Regions from separate parts of the Homo sapiens genome. Here regions 1, 2, 3, 4 and 5 are each linked to region 6. The links are contacts of gene promoters, found by promoter capture Hi-C in human tissues and cell types (Jung and others, 2019). All regions are on one chromosome and are shown on one strand. The core of a region is centred on a gene start or on the middle of the fragment in contact, and the rest is flanking DNA. Distances in the headings are between cores, read along the strand shown. Region 1 holds the start of ZNF555 (zinc finger protein 555). Region 2 holds the start of ZBTB7A (zinc finger and BTB domain containing 7A). Region 3 holds the start of PIAS4 (protein inhibitor of activated STAT 4). Region 4 overlaps EEF2 (eukaryotic translation elongation factor 2). Region 5 holds the start of SGTA (small glutamine rich tetratricopeptide repeat co-chaperone alpha). Region 6 holds the start of NFIC (nuclear factor I C).

Evidence for each region. The method cuts DNA at HindIII sites, captures the fragments that hold promoters and counts their contacts. A contact is called where the count stands out against the background at its distance.
Region 1: a contact is called between the fragment with the promoter of ZNF555 here and the fragment with the promoter of NFIC in region 6, in 3 of the 25 tissues and cell types used here (dorsolateral prefrontal cortex, heart left ventricle and small bowel).
Region 2: the fragment with the promoter of ZBTB7A here is called in contact with the fragment with the promoter of NFIC in region 6 in 1 of the 25 tissues and cell types used here (dorsolateral prefrontal cortex).
Region 3: a contact is called between the fragment with the promoter of PIAS4 here and the fragment with the promoter of NFIC in region 6, in 1 of the 25 tissues and cell types used here (spleen).
Region 4: a contact is called between a fragment that was not itself captured here and the fragment with the promoter of NFIC in region 6, in 1 of the 25 tissues and cell types used here (lymphoblastoid cells).
Region 5: a contact is called between the fragment with the promoter of SGTA here and the fragment with the promoter of NFIC in region 6, in 1 of the 25 tissues and cell types used here (spleen).

Annotation. Positions count from the first base shown.
Region 1 is chr19:2,840,029-2,842,728 of GRCh38, reverse strand. ZNF555 (zinc finger protein 555) reads right to left here and starts at 1,254. Exons shown (of 4, transcript NM_152791.5): 1 at 1,154-1,254. The coding sequence starts at 1,156. RefSeq lists silencers at 874-923, 964-1,263, 1,484-1,673, 1,684-1,793. The HindIII fragment of the contact is 15,507 bases long and covers 1-2,700 here.
Region 2 is chr19:4,065,618-4,068,561 of GRCh38, reverse strand. ZBTB7A (zinc finger and BTB domain containing 7A) reads left to right here and starts at 1,663. Exons shown (of 3, transcript NM_015898.4): 1 at 1,663-1,880. RefSeq lists silencers at 813-1,142, 1,203-1,312, 1,523-1,582, 1,623-1,672, 1,683-1,882 and 1 more. The HindIII fragment of the contact is 23,363 bases long and covers 1-2,944 here.
Region 3 is chr19:4,006,441-4,009,140 of GRCh38, reverse strand. PIAS4 (protein inhibitor of activated STAT 4) reads right to left here and starts at 1,405. Exons shown (of 11, transcript NM_015897.4): 1 at 1,354-1,405. The coding sequence starts at 1,380. RefSeq lists silencers at 1,252-1,311, 1,342-1,641 and enhancers at 597-1,487, 1,842-1,971, 1,488-2,379. The HindIII fragment of the contact is 22,791 bases long and covers 1-2,700 here.
Region 4 is chr19:3,978,873-3,981,572 of GRCh38, reverse strand. It overlaps EEF2 (eukaryotic translation elongation factor 2), which reads left to right. Exons shown (of 15, transcript NM_001961.4): 7 at 121-234; 8 at 594-732; 9 at 864-1,059; 10 at 1,507-1,765; 11 at 2,137-2,244. Among named protein-coding and RNA genes, the nearest start is that of SNORD37, 2.3 kb to the left of the region's middle. RefSeq lists an enhancer at 1-100. The HindIII fragment of the contact is 5,039 bases long and covers 1-2,700 here.
Region 5 is chr19:2,781,889-2,784,588 of GRCh38, reverse strand. SGTA (small glutamine rich tetratricopeptide repeat co-chaperone alpha) reads left to right here and starts at 1,316. Exons shown (of 12, transcript NM_003021.4): 1 at 1,316-1,356. RefSeq lists enhancers at 885-954, 2,451-2,550 and a silencer at 1,345-1,394. The HindIII fragment of the contact is 32,124 bases long and covers 1-2,700 here.
Region 6 is chr19:3,365,141-3,367,943 of GRCh38, reverse strand. NFIC (nuclear factor I C) reads right to left here and starts at 1,361. Exons shown (of 11, transcript NM_001245002.2): 1 at 1,278-1,361. The coding sequence starts at 1,307. RefSeq lists silencers at 353-752, 1,043-1,192, 1,643-1,732. The HindIII fragment of the contact is 27,364 bases long and covers 1-2,803 here.

The sequences.
Region 1 (2,700 bases), core at 5-2,504, 530 kb after region 6:
TAAATGTACGTTTCACTTCCTAAAAACTGCTGACTCGAAAAAAGGAAAATCTTTTCACAGTGACAAACCCAGGGAGGGGTCAAGTCTGGCCAGGCTACCACGACGGACGCCCTCCCACCCCCAACTCAGGTGTTGCCTCAGCAAGGAATCCCATTGCTAGTACTCAAAACAGAACTGAGAAACGTCTTCAAATCCACACTTTCTAGGGAACCGTGAAAGAATATATTTCCGTGGTTTTAGCCCCCTCGTTTGCAGTCAGTTGCTACAGCAGTCCGAGGACACTAATGCACCAGCCTCCCGGGCGTCCCCGCTGTGGGTCTGCGTGCGTTTGCTTTTGGGGTCCTCGCTCTCCCTTGTTTCTCTAGTCTTTTCAGTTACTTTTCTTCCTTGTGTGTGAGAGCCCAGGGACCAGGAACCCTTGTTTTTTTTCCCCTTACCTACCCCAGGCATCTTGGGGTCAGAGGGGACAAGAAGTCCTCAAGAAGGAAAACCGGGACTCAGGGGAGGAAACCTCGCACGCCCCAGGGGCTGCCTTTGCAGGTGGGGGCGTCTCCGCCCCCGCCGAGGCCCCACCGCTCCCGGGCTGTCCCGGGAGGAACCCAGGGTCCCCCAGAGACCGCGGCCGGAGGCGCGGGGCCTCCAAGGAGCTGAGCCGCGGGAGCGCGAGCGGAGGCGGCACCGACCAGGGACCCGCACCCCAGGAGGCACCGCGGCGTCGGCCCCAGGGCGGGTCCCGGGGGAGCCTGGACCGCACCTCGGGGTCTCGGGCGACTCTGCCTCCCGCGGCCCGGGGGTCCCGAAGCCGCAGCGAAACGCTCCGAGGCGTCGCGGCCCCGGGCGGGGCGTGGGGGGTCGGGAGCGCAGGGACGCGGGGACCCCGGGACGACGGGGACGGAGTCGGGCTCCGGGCGCCGCTCCCCGCTCTGCAGCCTTGGGGCCAGAGGCGGGCGGGGACCCGGAGCTCGGAGCGCCCTAGCCGCGACCTCAGCGCGGGAGGCGGGGCCGGGCGGGACCCCCGGGGCCCAGGCTCCCGTCCTGCGCCGCCCTCGCCGGGGCCGCCCCCCGCGTCCCTCAGCTCCCCCCAAGCCGCGGTCTCGGGCGGTCGCCGGTTCCTGCTGCCCCGCACCGGGATCCTCTCCTGCGCCACACTCACCATGTCCCGGGGCGATTTCTTCGCTACCGGCGCAGGTGAGCGCGACAGGAACCGGGACGCCAGGGACCGCTAGGGGCAGGCGGGGCACTCACGGCTAGGACAGAGGCGTCCCGTCCCAGGGGCCTGATTAGACAGAGCTCGGGAAGCCGCGCTTCTGATTGGACAGTGCTGCCAACGTCGGCGACTCTGATTGGAGAATTCCCCAGTCCGTCCCCTGGCGCTGTAAATTGGGCAGTTCCCCGGATTCCGATTGGGCGTCCCTCATTGGATACTTGTCTCGGCCCCGCCCCCGCCCGTCCTGACTGGGTAGTTCCCTAGGGCCCACCCCCTGCCGGTGAGTGACGGGAGCGTTGCGAACACGCGTGGCTGTCCCGCCCTGCGGGGACACTGGCTTCTGGGCGAACTGGTTTCAGCCCGGGGCGGAATCGCCCTCTCCCCGCAGTTCGGGCGCCCCGCCCGCGTCCTCCTCCGGGACGGGCGTGGGAACTCCAGACTAGTTTCCTCACGAGGCGACCCCTTGTCCGGACAGGAGGTGGATGCAAGCGGGCGGCCCGGGCCTGGCAGGGCGAACGGGGGCTGGGCGCCGGGTCCGAAGGGCCGAGACCTACGTGGGGGCGGGACCCGCAGACGTGACGTCATCGCGCTGCGGGCGACATGGAGACCCCGCCCAGGGGGCTGCGAATCCGGAGACCCGGTCTGGGGGAGGCCGAACCCAAAGCCTGGCAGGGGGCAGGAGCTTTGCTCAAATCAACCAGAAGATATGAGATGTTCATTAAAACCCTCACATTTGGCTGGGCGCAGTGGCTCACGCCTGTAATCCCAGCACTTTGGGAGACCGAGGTGGACGGATCATCTGAGTTCAGGAGTTTGAGACCATCGTGGCCAATATGGTGAAACCCTTTCTCTACTAAAAATACAGAAATCAGCCCGGCGTGGTGCCGGGCGCCTGTAATCTCAGCTACTGGGGATGCTGGGGCAGGAGAATTGCTTGAACCCGAGAGGTGGAGGTTGTAGTGACCCGAGATCGCCCCACTGCAGTCTAGCCTGGGCGACAGAGTGAGACTCCATATTAAAAAACAAAAAAACTCTCAAGTTCATATTTTAAACTCTAAGGAAAATGTTTTCAGATCATTTTTTTAAGTACATCCCCCCAAAATTTGGAAGATTGAAAAGCTGGCCGGGCGCTGTGGCTCACGCCTGTAATCCCAGCACTTTGGGAGGCCGAGGCGGGCGGATCACCTGAGGTCAGGAGTTCAAGACCAGCCTGCCCAACATGGCAAAACCCTGTCTCTACTAAAAATACAAAATTAGCCGGGCGTGGTGGCGCGCACCTGTAATCCCAGCTAGGGAGGCTGAGGCAAGAGAATCGCTTGAGGCCGGGCACGGTGGCTCACGCCTGTAATCCCAGCACTTTGGGAGGCCGAGGCGGGCGGATCACGAGGTCAGGAGATCGAGACCATCCTGGCTAACACGGTGAAACCCCGTCTCTACTAAAAAATACAAAAAAATTAGCCAGGCCTGGTGGCGGGTGCCTGTAGTCCCAGCTA
Region 2 (2,944 bases), core at 414-2,913, 700 kb before region 6:
CTGATGGCCGGTGGTTGAAGGAAGAAGGATTTCTATCCCAGGCAGGGTCCTTGGAGCAAAGTCCCTGGATGACACCCTCGCCCTAGATCCACGCGGCCCCTCCCTGGGTCCCTTCCCACCTACCCGGCTGGTTTCAGGCTGCGAGTCCTGAGACAGTCCACTTCCCCTCCGGGGGGCCCTCCCGGGTTTCCCCTCGTAGCCAGATTATTATTACAAAAGCCAATCCAACCCGTTTGGGTGTTGAAAGGCGCTTTTAATAAATTGTGCGAAGAAGCCATAAACTGTGTCTCTCGCAGGAGAGGCTTTGAAGTCAGAGGACAGGCTGGGTACACTACACCCAGGCCGGTGGTGGTTCCCGCTGTCAGGTGGTGTTGGTACTAAGAATGCCAGATAATAATAAAACATAATAATGACCCTGGGATTAGGTGTTAGAATGAAGGCACAGTGAGCCCCGGAACAGGGTCACCCACTGGATAAGCGCTCACTAAACGGCAGCTAAAGCAGCTGTCAGTACTCTCTCTGTCTGGAGGAATGAGGAAGGGGAAACTGAGTCCTGGAGCCCTCCCCCCCCCCCCCAGGCGCGCGGTCGCACCAGCCAGCCCTCCCCGGGCCGGGCCAGGACGTTCTCACCACTCGTGCCCTGCTCCCCCTTCCCTGTCCCCCGCCGGACCTCTCCCACGACCGGGGAGGAAGTGGGAGAAACGGACAGGGGAAAAAAAAAAGTCGCGCTGAACCAACGCCTCCCCACTCCCCACCTCCGCCCCTCGCGAGCCATGCAGACCCCCTTGTGCCAAGGAGCGGCCCGCGCGGACCAGGCGTCCAGGGCCCGGTCCCCGTCCCGCCCCGCGGCCCGCAGCCGGGTGGGGGAACTCGCGAAGCCGGGAAAACAACCGCCCTCCCCGCCCCTCGCCAACCCCTTCCCCCGCTGACGCCCCTAGCGCAGCGGGGTGGAGGCGACTCCTTTATATAATCGCGGGAGGGCAGGTTGGTGGTTTCATTTAGGGACCCGGGAGCCCCGCGGACCCGGGCTGTCCTTGGCAAGGCCACCCCCCGGGGTCCCTGGCGCGGCAAGTCCCACTGAGGCCCGGGGAGGCCCAGGGCCTGGCCTTGCGGGGGGATCCCCACCGCCTCACCCCCAACCCACCCCCGGCAGCCCAGGCCGCGCGACCCACACGCCCGCGTCGCTCCTCGCTGTGCGCACCGCGCTCCCCGCCCCCGCTGCCATCCTGCCACGCCCCGGGCGTCGGGGGCACAGCCCGCGCCCCCCCGCACCCCGCCCCTGCGCAGAGGCTGGGGGCCTGTTTATCTGGAGGCCCCCACCCCCCCTCCACCCCGGGGGGCCCGCTCCCCCCGCGCCCCGGGGAGCTCTGGGGCCAGATAAGCTGGCAAGCTGGCACGGCGCCGCGCGGCGGGGCGGAGAGGTCAGAGGCGGGGGGGCGCGCCGGGGCGGGCCGGACCCCCCCCCCCGACTTGACAAAACCTAATAACAGCCCGGTCTCCCCGGCGCAGCGGGCGAAGCCCCACGGGAGGGCAGAGACGTGGCAAGAGGGGACCTGCCGAGCCTGTTCTGGCCTCCGAGGCCAGGCTGGGGGGGGCGGGCTGGGCGTGGGGGGGCCGGCGGCTGCGGCACCTTTAAGACAAGGGAGGACCCCTCTTGCCCTCGGAGAAACCAGGAAGGGAGTCGCGAGCATCATACGGGGCTTTGGCTGTACTGTACAGTTACTGTAGGGGCAGTGACGCCGCCGCCGCCGCGCGAGGGAGCGACCAGGGCAGCGCGACGCGGGCAGAGCGAGCGCCGCGGACCCCGGAGGCGAGCGGCCGAGGGAGCCCAGTCCCAACTTCGGGCCCCGGCCCCGCGCGCCCCGGCCCGGCCCCGCGAGGTAAGTCAGCGCCCGGCGCGGCCCCCGGCACGGGGTGCAGGGCGGGGACGGGCGGGGGTCGCTGCGGCCACCGCTGCCCCCTCGGGAAGGGGAGATCCGGGGAGCCGGGGACGTTCCCCCAAGTTTCAGAGGAAGGGGTGGTTGGCAGCTGCCCGGAGGCTGGAGGCGCCCTGGATCCCGAGCGCGGGGAGGGGGCGCCGCCCGGGAAGGGGGGATTGGGGGCTAAGTGCATGAGCTTGTGCGCCAGCCCCCCCCAACCCGGGTGCATGGCTTTTCGGGGCTCCCAGGCGCGCGGGGAGCGGGGGAGGGGAAGCAGGGCTGCATTGAGGGTGGGGGGAGCCGGCGTGGGGAGATAGGGGGGCGCGTCGCCTGCTAAGTTTCCAGCTGAAGACGAGGGGCGCTCTCGCCCCCCGGGGGCCTATTCGGTGCTGCGTGCATACGTTGGAGTTGGCCAGGATTGAGCTCCATGGGGGATGGGGGGGAGGGGGCTGAAAAAACAGGGAGGGGGGCTTCGGAAAGGAGGGGGAAGGGGTGGGGTGTCCGGGTGGGCGGGCAGGGCCGCAGGGACCTCTGGGCTTCGTAGTCCCTCCGCCGTTTGCAGCCGGCAGGTGGCAAGCGGCTTGGACTACAAGTCCCAGGGTGCCCCGCGCCGACAGCCCGCCGCGGCCTGCGGGTAGGGGCGGTGCGGAGGAGGGGCGGTGAGCGGCGGGCCGGAGAGCCAATGGGCGCGGGCCGATCGCGCGGCGCGGCGCGGGGGCGGGGCCAGCCCGCCAGGGGGCGGGGCCTGGAGCCGGGCTCCCCTCGCCGGGGGCCGGTGGCGGTCCCGGCTTCCGGCTGCGCGGCCCGCGGGCCGGCCCCCTCCCCGCCCCGGGGCCCCTCCCCGCCTGGTTGTGTAACCGTCCCCAGCCCCCCTCCCCTCGGCCCCCCGCCCGTGGGGGGGGGGTCACCCTCCCCGCGCTCCCCGGGGAGGGCGGCGGCCCGGGCGGCCGCGCGGTGCAGGCGAGCCCGGGGATGCGCGGCCTAGCGCAGGCCGGGCCCGGGCGTGGGGGAGGCGGGCGGGCGGA
Region 3 (2,700 bases), core at 156-2,655, 640 kb before region 6:
AGGGAGAGGTCCCCTAACCTCCCCGGAAGCCGTGGCCTTGCGGGCACTTCTAAGGGTTTTAGACCCTCAGCTCTAGGTAGGCACCTACAAGAAGGTACATCCCCTGGAATGGGGATACTCTGAGCTCAATCCCAGGATGATTAAAAGTGGTTCCAAGCTAGGAGATGGTATCTATGGGACATGGGACCTGGACAGGACCCAAAGTATAATAGAGCAGCAGCAACAGTTGTTCTAAAGAGGCCAGCCTTGGACCCAGTGGGGACCCTCCAGAGATCAACAAAAGAGAATAGGCAGAAAGAGAGGGGACCTTAGAAACCAAAGTTGGGGTGCATAAAAGTTCTGGGGGCTGTGTAGGGGGAGGGTGGGTGTCTGACCTAAGAAGTAGACTCGCTCAAGAGCAGAAAATAGGAGAAGCAGCCAAGGTTTGAGGACAGTATCTGATGCTGCACAGGTGAGGTTTAGAGCCCCCTGAAGCAGAATCAGTAGCCTCAGATTCTGTCCCGAGAGGAACGAGGTAGGACCAAAGCACAGTCCAGGATTTAAGATTAAAAAAAGGAGAATAAAGAAGGTCTGTGACCAAGAAGAGTGGTCCGAACTCCATCCTATGGGGAGGGAAAGGGAGGGCCCAGCCTTCCCCCAAGCGCCCACTCCGGCGTGTGAGAGACGGTGTCGGGAAGGGGGCGGGGTTCTGGGACCAATGCAGGAGCTGAAGAGGGGCTCAAGACCGAGCCTGAACTCCAGACCCCAAGAGGACGTGCCGTGTCTTGGGGGTGGTCTCAGGGCCCTGACTCCTCCACCTGGACGGTGGCAGGACACTATCCAGGACTCGGGGGACCCTTCCGAGCAGGAGACTCGCAAACCCCAGCCTGGCCTGTTGGGCGGGGACGAGACCCAGATAGCAGTCCTGGGAGCCCTGTGGGCGGGGAGGCGCAGACACTCCCCCCAACACACCAGCCAAAAAGCAAGGACCCCGGCTCGGAACCAAGAGGGCAACGAGTAGCTCAACACGTCCCGCATCCCGGCGGGACGGTGCCTCAACCGGGAGGCGCGGCCCTGGCCTGGCGCTCAGGGACCGGGACCCTAAGGGCTCGGGCTGGGTGGGGGGACCCTGCCTGAAGCCGGGGGAGCGACCCCCGGCGCGAAGACCTGGGTGAGGCAGGAGGGCCCCGCCCCCGGCCTCCCCGCCCCCCGCCCTCACCCTGAGACCGGGGGTCGGGGTCTGGGGGCCGGGACGGCGAGCCGCGGGCCGGCCGCGCTGTGGGGCCCCGGACAGAAGGCGCAGACCTCGACCTGCGGCCCGGCCCCCGCCCTCTCGCCCACTTGCCCCGGCCGGCGCCGCCACCGCTCACTCACTTTGGCCTCCACCAGCTCCGCCGCCATCTTGGTCACCAGCGTCCCCCGCGCCGGGAGCCCCCAGCCGTCGCGTCACGTGACCGCTCACCACTCGCGGGCGGGGCCGCCGCCCGGGCCAATTAGCACCCGCGCGCGCTCCTCCCGCCGCCGGTGCGCGCTGCTGCCTCCTGCGCAGGCGCGCGCGGCCACCGCCCGGGCCTCCGGCCAATCAGGTCCGTCCTACACCAGCGCCCCCCCCCCCGCTCGCGGCGACCACGCCTACCCCGGCGGCGCCTGACTCCTTAAAGTGGTACTAGCCCTGCGCAGGTGGGGACGGGTGCTCGGTTTCCTCTAGGGAGGGAAGGCGAGAGGGGGCGGTGGCAGCGACAACAATGCAGCTAGGTGCCGTGGCTTCCTGCGCGCGGCGGCCGCCAGGTGCGTCTCCAGACTCCCGGCGGCGTCGGGCAGGGGATGGTTGCTCCGCCGCAACGGCCGCCAGTGCGTACAGTGAGGCGCCTTGCAGCGCAGCGCGGTGCAGGCTCCACGGGCCCAGACACCCCGCGCGCTGCACATCCGGGTCCTGGTGTGCAGATGGGGCGTGGGCTCGGCAACCAGCTGGCTGGGGGCGCCCGGCGGAGAAAAGCGGGACCCCTGCTCCCAAATTCCTTGGAGATCGTACAGCCCTCACCTCTTTGCAGGCGCCCCCCCCATCCTGCCTCCCCACCCATGGGAAACCTTGGATCTGCACCAGTTGGGACCTCTTCTCCAAAGCGCTCCTTGGCTTTGGAGCTAAGTGGCTTCGTGCCCGTAGAAGTGGATTTCAAACTTCAATAATCAAGTATTTTAGTGCAATTTATTTTTTATTTTTATTTTTGTAGAGACGAGGATCTCATTATGTTATCCAGGGTGGTCTCGAATGTCTGGGCTTAAATGATCCTTCTGTCTGGGCCTCCCACAGTGCTGGGATTACAGGCGCGAGTCACCACACCTGGCTAGTCCAACACTTTAAACATAAAAAAATCAGTGCAAAAGAGTCCATGATGGATGAAATACCAAATTGTTATTTATTTATTTATTTTCGAGACGGAGTTTTACTCTTGTTGCCCAGGCTGGAGTGCAATGGCGCGATCTCAGCTCACTGCAACCTCCATCTCCCGGGTTCAAGGGATTCTCCTGCCTCAGCCTCCCAAGTAGGTGGGATTACAGGCGACTGCCACCACGCCCAGCTAATTTTTTTTTTGGCCAGGCTTTTCTGCAACCCCTGACCTCAAGTGATCTGCCCGCTTCAACCTCCCAAAGTACTAGGATTACAGGCATGAGCCATCATGCCCAGCCTTTTTTTTTTTTTTTTTTGAGAGCCTTGCTGTG
Region 4 (2,700 bases), core at 109-2,608, 610 kb before region 6:
TGCTCCTGCTCCCGTGCTGCGTCCCCCTGCGCTGACCTGAGTCTTCCAAGCAGGAAGCAGTGCCAGGCTTCCTCCTGCTGTTCCCAAATGGGCTTTCTTGTTTCTTGGTGGGGAATGTAGGTGTTTGATGCGATCATGAATTTCAAGAAAGAGGAGACAGCAAAACTGATAGAGAAACTGGACATCAAACTGGACAGCGAGGACAAGGACAAAGAAGGCAAACCCCTGCTGAAGGTGCGGCCTGGGCCCAGCCCTCGGGGTGGAGGGAACACAGGCTGCTGTTTCCGGATGCTCTGACAGCCCAGGCCTGGGGGCTGAAGTCCTCAGCTGGGCAGGGACAGCTGCTGCCCCTTTCGCTTTAGACTCTGGGTGCTGCTGGAGACACATCCCAGCAGCCAGCCCCATCCGGGACAGGTGTGGGTGAGGGCCTTGGCAGGAGTGTGCATGGCCTTTGCCGCCTTCCAGAAGGGACTGTGCTTTGGAGAACGTTAGTCCTGACTTTGGCTTCCTTGGCTTCAAGAGAGGAAGCGTGTACGGGGTGGGGCCATCCTGGGCTCCCCAGGTGTCTCATGCACCGCTCTCTGCCCCCGCAGGCTGTGATGCGCCGCTGGCTGCCTGCCGGAGACGCCTTGTTGCAGATGATCACCATCCACCTGCCCTCCCCTGTGACGGCCCAGAAGTACCGCTGCGAGCTCCTGTACGAGGGGCCCCCGGACGACGAGGCTGCCATGGGTACGTGGTCCCGGTGGCCGGGCCCTGAGATGCAGCCGGATGACTTCCTGTTGCCCAAGGTTGTGGGTTGCAGGGTTCCAGAAGGCTGAGCTGCACTGGAATAAAGCTTGCGGGTTTTCTCTGTCCCTCAGGCATTAAAAGCTGTGACCCCAAAGGCCCTCTTATGATGTATATTTCCAAAATGGTGCCAACCTCCGACAAAGGTCGGTTCTACGCCTTTGGACGAGTCTTCTCGGGGCTGGTCTCCACTGGCCTGAAGGTCAGGATCATGGGGCCCAACTATACCCCTGGGAAGAAGGAGGACCTCTACCTGAAGCCAATCCAGAGGTGAGCAGCTGGGTGATGTGCAGGCCCCTTGGCACTGTTGCGGGCCCTGCCCTGCTCCAAGTCTTGGGCTCCTCAGTCGGGAGCTAGAAGTAAGGAGCATAGAAGGAATATAGGGTGATACTTGTGCCAGCCACAACTTTTGTTCTTAGCCCAGTGAGGGCATTTCTGGAGAAGCTCCAAGCCCCAGGGCACAGCACACCCCTGCTCATCTGTGTCCCTGGGCACAGGTGGGTGGCGGCCGTCGACCCATACCCAGGGAGGAGGGCAGTGATTCTGAAGAGGATGTTTCCTGACAGCCCCGACGCAGCAGTCAGGGCCTTGTGGAAGCCACCAGTCTGCCCTGGGACCTGGCAGGAGGGCCACCAACTCCGGGAGGGACCTGCCCTGGCCCTCCAGGGTCCAGCACAACCATCCCTGCGGCCTGCTGCCGCCTTCTGCTTCTTCCAGAACAATCTTGATGATGGGCCGCTACGTGGAGCCCATCGAGGATGTGCCTTGTGGGAACATTGTGGGCCTCGTGGGCGTGGACCAGTTCCTGGTGAAGACGGGCACCATCACCACCTTCGAGCACGCGCACAACATGCGGGTGATGAAGTTCAGCGTCAGCCCTGTTGTCAGAGTGGCCGTGGAGGCCAAGAACCCGGCTGACCTGCCCAAGCTGGTGGAGGGGCTGAAGCGGCTGGCCAAGTCCGACCCCATGGTGCAGGTGGGCACGGAGTGCACCTGCTGGGAGCAGACACCCTGAGGGGGGACGGCTTGTGTCCTGAGTTGTGGCTGTGTGGGTTGCTGTGGTTGGTGGATTGGGGTGACTGGTCATGAAAGGAGGGGTTCTTGGCTGTGGCTGTAAATGGAGACTCCTGCCCAGGCAGCCACCACCCTCTCCTAGGCTGCTCTGCGCGTGTTCACTGTAGCTTGTGGGACTTAACATTTCTTCAGGAGTTTGTGCTGGTCCCAGTTTCCCAGCACCTTCCCTGAAATCTTGTTCTGGCGGGGTCCCTAGCTAAAGGGAAGCTGGGAGCCTGGTCCCGCCTGTTCCGAGCCGCCTACCCCTTTGGTGCTGACCCGCATCCCTTTCAGTGCATCATCGAGGAGTCGGGAGAGCATATCATCGCGGGCGCCGGCGAGCTGCACCTGGAGATCTGCCTGAAGGACCTGGAGGAGGACCACGCCTGCATCCCCATCAAGGTGAGGCGCCAGTGACCAGCCTTCCCCACGCCCCACCCCGGACACCTGCCCTCTGCTTTAAAGCTGAGCTGAGCTAGGCTCTGCAGACGCCTAGACTTGATCTCGGTCTTGGTCTCAGCTTCTTAAGTTCCTCAAGTTTCTTCTTTGCAGTCTTCCACAGGCATGTGGGGCTGTTTTTGTTGTTGTTGTTGTTTTTTTTGAGATAGTCTCGCTGTGTCATCCAGGCTGGAGTGCAGTGGCGTGATCTTGGCTCGCTAGAACCTCCACCTCCCGGGTTCAAGCGATTCTCTTGCCTCACTCAGCTTCCTGAGTAACTGGGACTACAGGCGCGTGCTACCACGCCCGGCTAATTTTTTTTTGTATTTTTAGTAGAGGCGGGGTTTCACTGTGTTAGTAAGTCAAGATGGTCTCGATCTCCTGACCTCGTGATCCCCCTGCCTCGGCCTCCCAAAGTGC
Region 5 (2,700 bases), core at 67-2,566, 580 kb after region 6:
CAAAAACCAAAACAACCGACCTCCTTTCTTCCCTTTTTTTGTTTTTGTTTTGTTTTCTTTTGCTTTGGAGGGGCTGGAGGGAGTCTCGCTCAGTCGCCCAGGCTGGAGTGCAATGGCGCGATCTCGGCTCGCTGCAACCTCTGCCTCTCGGGTTCAAGCGATTCTCCTGTCTCAGCGTCCCGAGTAGCTGGGACTACAAATGCCCGCACCACGCCCGGCTAATTTTTGCATTTTTAGTAGATACAGGGTTTCACCGTGTTGGCCAGGCTGGTCTCGAACTCCTGACATCAAGTGATCTGCCCCCTGGCCTCCCAAAGTGCTGGGATTACAGGCGTGAGCCACCACGGCCGGCCTCACCTCCTTTATTTCTGCAAAAGAAATTAAAATAATCCACGCCATTAATCGTGCATGTATTTTGAGTAGGACGAAAATGAATTGGGAGAACATTTCTGGCAACTGTAACTTAGATGGTGATCAGTTTTCTGTCGTCCTTGGAAATGTCTCATCACATGTCTTGAGCAACACCAAGATTAATTTTACATCGGCGTTCATTTTCGCTGTTCCCTGTGCCTGGGGTCCGTTTGGACTTTCCTATCCTTGAAATCCAAATGTAAAGGATGATCTTTCCTACCCATCCCATGCGACTTAGCTCCCAGTGACAATCACACTACCTTCATTTTTTTTTTCTTAGTGTTTGCTGTGAAATTTGTTTCTCTATTTATGTACTAGTTTATTAGTTTATAGTCCGTCTACCCCAATGCAAAATAATGAGAGTAGACACTTTGCTGGTTTTTATGGCTGCTTTGCAATAAATATTGAATGAATATTAGGCACCTGCTGTCTACAAATGGCTCTATACTCACAAACGTCTCACACTGCATGAAAGAATGCATTTGTGGGTGAGTAGATGGGTGGGTGAATAAATGAACAAAGATAGTAAGCGGGTAACACTGACTCCCATTCATTGCGCAGCTGTGACGCTCTGGAGTCCAGGTGTCCAAACGCGGCTGCACCACGTGGCCGGCCCAGCACCACGTGGTCAGCTCGGCGACCGGCTGGAGTCAGCCACTGTTCCACCGTGCACCGCTTCATTCCCGCTCTAGAGGGCAAACCAGACCCGATTTCCGGCCTCCATTAGGTCGCAGAGGTCAGTTGCCCTAACAACCAGCTGGTTCCCGCCTCTACGTTGCGTCACTTCCTTCCACGCCCGCCTCCATCATTAACGCGCCTGTGCAGAAGGGAAGCAACTCCGGGCGCCTTTCTTTTGCGCAGGCGTCGCGCCCTGGGGCCGGGGCCGGGCGGCACCGCGGTGCGCAAGCGCAACCGTCGGTGGGTCGGGGATCGGTCGCCTGAGAGGTGAGTGAGGGGCACTGCGCTGAGCCTGGTGGGTCTGGGGTCTGCGGCTCGGGGCCCACGGGGCCCCAAAGCTCGTAAGAGTTTGGGGATCGTGAGGCCAGGGTCACCGCGACCCGCGGGGTCCTGTGAGTAGGCGGTGCGGAGGGGAAACTGAGGCCGGGCGCCATCGGGCAGGCCCTTCGAGCCCTGATCTCCCTTCCCCAGGCCCCAGGTCCTGGAAATGCTGGTCCGCGGCCTGGTGGCGAGGACGGCGGGAGGGGAAGGCGCCCCGCATGTAGTGAGCGCTCGCTGGGTGTTCGCTGCCGTTCCGCTCTTATTAACCGCCTGGAAACGTCGTCCCTGTGACTCAGGGACCCCCGTTTGTGGGGACTGAAGTCGGAACTCTGGTTCCAGCGCCGCCAGTCCCTACCTGGGTGACCTTGCCCAGCCTCTTGGCTTCTCGGAGCCTCAGTTTTCCCCTCTGTAAAACGGGCGTTGTTCAAAAGTCCCTGCCTAGGAGAAGGAGAGCCGCAGGGTCCAGCGGAATCTGAGAACTCCAAAGAATTAGCAGGCGTTCGTCTTATATCATGTTTAGAGTCTTCTTCTGCATATCGTGCTAGAGGTGGGGGAAATCTGGGATTCAGGACCGTCCACCACCACCTCCCACCCGCTGTGTAAACCTGGGTGAGTCGCCTTCCCTCTCTGAGCAAACTGTTCCTTCTTTCGCAAACGAGTTGTAAAAGCAGATGCCTCGGAGGGTCATTATGAGGATAAACCCACATTCAATTATTTGATCAGGTGCCTGGAACTTGATAAGAGAGAGCTGGCTTGAGAATAGCTGTTTTTGTTATTAGGTGCCAGAAAATTGCAGTGTAGTGTGCCCTTCAGAGGTTGAATGATTGTCCCATTTTCTTTTGTTTCTGTCTCTGATTATTCCTTTTGTCTGCCTTTTCCCTCCCTTGACCAGTGGTTCTCAACCAGGAACAATTCTGTGCCCCAGGGATTCTTGGTGACATTTGTGCTTGTCATGATTTGGGGGACCCCCTGGTTTGGAGTTGGTGGAGGCCAGGGTTGCTGCTCGGCACCCTGCAGTACCCAGGACGGCCTCACCCCAGAAAATGATCCAGCTTTAAATGTCAATAATGCTTTAAAAACCCTACCATACGGGCTGATGACCTGAGGTCAGGAGTTCAAGACCAGCCTAGCCAACGTGGTGAAACCCCGTCTCTACTGAAAATATGAAAATTAGCTGGGCATGGTGGTGTGCACCTGTAATCCCAGCTACTCAGGAGGCTGAGGCAGGAGAATCCCTTGAACCCAGGAGGCAGAGGTTGCAGTGACCCAACATCATGCCACTGCACTCCA
Region 6 (2,803 bases), core at 112-2,611:
AGGGGGCCGGTGAGAAAGACCCTACCAAGGAGCATGCCTGGCGTGGGGGGTCCCTCACTGCACCATGCCCTGGAGCGGAAGCCGGGGACTCATATACTCCCCACACAGTGCTTCTTAAGACGGGCCTGGCCCTCGCTGGAATCGCACCCCCCACGTGCCGGGACTTTACAGTTTGCCCGCCATACTGTCCCCTCTCCAGAACCGGCCTTAGCCGCACCTCACTTCAGGGGAAACTGAGGCCAGAACCTCTCCAGCCTAAAGACACACTGCGTAAGGAGGAAAGCAGCGGTCTAGAAAACGGAACTTGCAGACCTCGGGGTCCCCGGGAGCCTGGGCTGGAAGGAGTCCCCGGGGGGAGCCGCCCCCTCCCCACACACCCCCTCGGCCATTGCACAAGGCTCGGCCCCGGGGCAGTCTGGGAGTGCGGCCAGGGGTGAGAGGCTACGGGAGGGGGAGGGGGAGGGGGAGGGGACGGGGCAGGTGCCGGGCTGGCGAGGGCGTCCGCAGCGCCGCAGTGCCCGGGCCAGACCCGGAGCGCCGGGCCTCCCGCTCCTCCCGGCGGCGGCTCCAGAATCCAGAATCCAGAATCCAGAATCGATGCAGCGAAAATACCGGGACGGTGCTGGGGGGCTTGCAAAGGAGGGGGGACCCAGCCGGGCCGCCGGAGCACCCTTCCCCCTCCTGGGCCTCCAACTTCTCCTGCCCCCTCCCCCTCCATGCACACGTGGGCCAATAACGAGGGAAAGGCGACCGAGGGCCAGGGCGGCCCGCACAACCTTGGTGGGGGGACACGGGGAAAACACATGAGAGGTCCCTTTCTCTCCAGCTGGGGAGACCCAGGGTCCAATCACGACCCCCTAGATTCCTCTCAGAGGCAGGCGGGGGGCTTCCCGCAGAGCCCTTGCTGGAGGGGGGCCAGCCCCCACCCCGACCTTTCCGAGTGTCGGGGCGGGGGTGCGGAGTGCGTCGGTGTGTGGGGGGGGGACGCAAATCTGCAGACCAAGCCCCACATCCGGGAGAGGTCCCGAGAGTCGGGGTTGGGGGTGCTGGGCGGGAGTCCCGCGTAGGGGGTCCGCGGTAGGTAAGGGTGTGGGGGGGGTACCCCAGCCTGACCCATCCCCCCACCGGACCCCAGCCCTCGGCGCGGGGGGCATCCCGGGCAGGGATGGCGGGAGGGACGCGCGCCTTTTTCGTCCCGCCTCCTCCTGCTTCAAAACTCCGGGGCTGGGATGCGGGGGGCGCGGGGGCGCCGGCGGGGGGCCGGGCGAGGACCGTACCTGGGTGAGGCAGAGCGGGGACGAATACATCCCGGGCGCGGCGGGAGGCGCAGGGCCGGCCGGAGCGGGCGCGCTGAACTTACTGAGTCATTTTTCCAAACCACCCCCCCGCCCCCCCCAACCCCCCCCCCCGCCCCGCGGCCGGCGCGCTCTCCTCGCCGCCTCCTCCCTCGGTCTCCCTCCTCCTCCCTCCTGCTCTCCCTCTCTCGCGCCGCCCGCCTCGCTCTCTGTCCCTCTCTCCCTCCGTCTCTCTCTTCCTCTCTCCCCCGTCTCTGTCTCTCTGTCTCTCTCTCTACCCTCTGACACCCTCCCCCTCCCACCCCGAACCTCCCACTTCTCAACACCCAACTTTCAAAGAAACGAGGGAAAAAAGGGCGCGAGCGAGAAAGGAGAGCCTCCCCCGACGTCTCAGGACCCCCCCGCTCCTCCCGTATTTACGCAATGCCCCAGGGCACTAGACCAGGACCCCAGGACTGCAGGGCGACCCCAATTCGGATCAAGCGGAGAGGGGGGACAGGGTTGTTTCTGGACATTGAGGGGCCAGGGGTGGATTTTTAAGGCCCCCCCTCCCCACCCCCCCATCACCCCCGAGCTGGCCGGGAAGTTGGAGGAAAGAGCCAGGGGGGAGGGAAGGAATGAAGAAGTGACGTGCGCAGAGGCCGGCCAGCGCGCCTCTTTCCCCTTAAAGATGTACGACCCTGGGTGCACGGTGAGCTGGTCCCACAGCACCCTGGCTCCCTTCTCCCCCCAGAGCCAGGCAGGGGCTGCGGGTCCCCAGCTAGAGGGGCTTGTGTGCAGCTGTCCCTTCCTTGGCCAGAAGGGCCCAGGCTAACACGGGAGGCTCCAGAATTTGCTCTCTTCACCCAGCACCCAAGGGGCAGGGGAGGGGTGGCCTCGCCTGTGTGTCTCTCCAGCACCCCAGGAGGACGGTGTCCAGGCGGGATCTCCAGCTGGCCAGATAAACCCTTGCAGCCTCCCCCTGGGTATCCAATAATTTCCACCTGCCTCAGGGGTGTGCCCTTTTCACAGATCTCAAGACTGAGGTATGGCAAGTGTGGCTTGGAGCCAGGCCATCTGGACCTGGAGCCCACATTCTGTTCTCCTTCTAGACGTAACAGGGCAGAGACCTGGCCTGCCTCCGTCTGAGCCCCCAGGGCATCTGATGACAGGGCCCCAACCCTCCCCCGGTTCACTCCCTGGATCCTCCCAGGCTAGCTCAGAGGCTGCTGTGTCTCTCATTCCCATCCCAAGGGTTCTCCCCTATAAAGTGGCTTAAAGATGCCCATCCTGTGGGATTGCTGGGGATAAGGACAATGACCTTAGCAGAGCCTTGACCTTGGGTCAAATGTTCACTAAAGACACATTCTTAGAAAGCTTGGCCATTTCACCTCATCTCTCTGAGCTTCCCAAGGACAAATGATACCCTCTCACCAAGCTGGGGCAGGTGCCCCAGGCCCAGGGGCGCAGAAGATACCAGCACCCATTATCCTCAGGCATTACAGGAGAGGAAACTGAGGCCCAGAGAA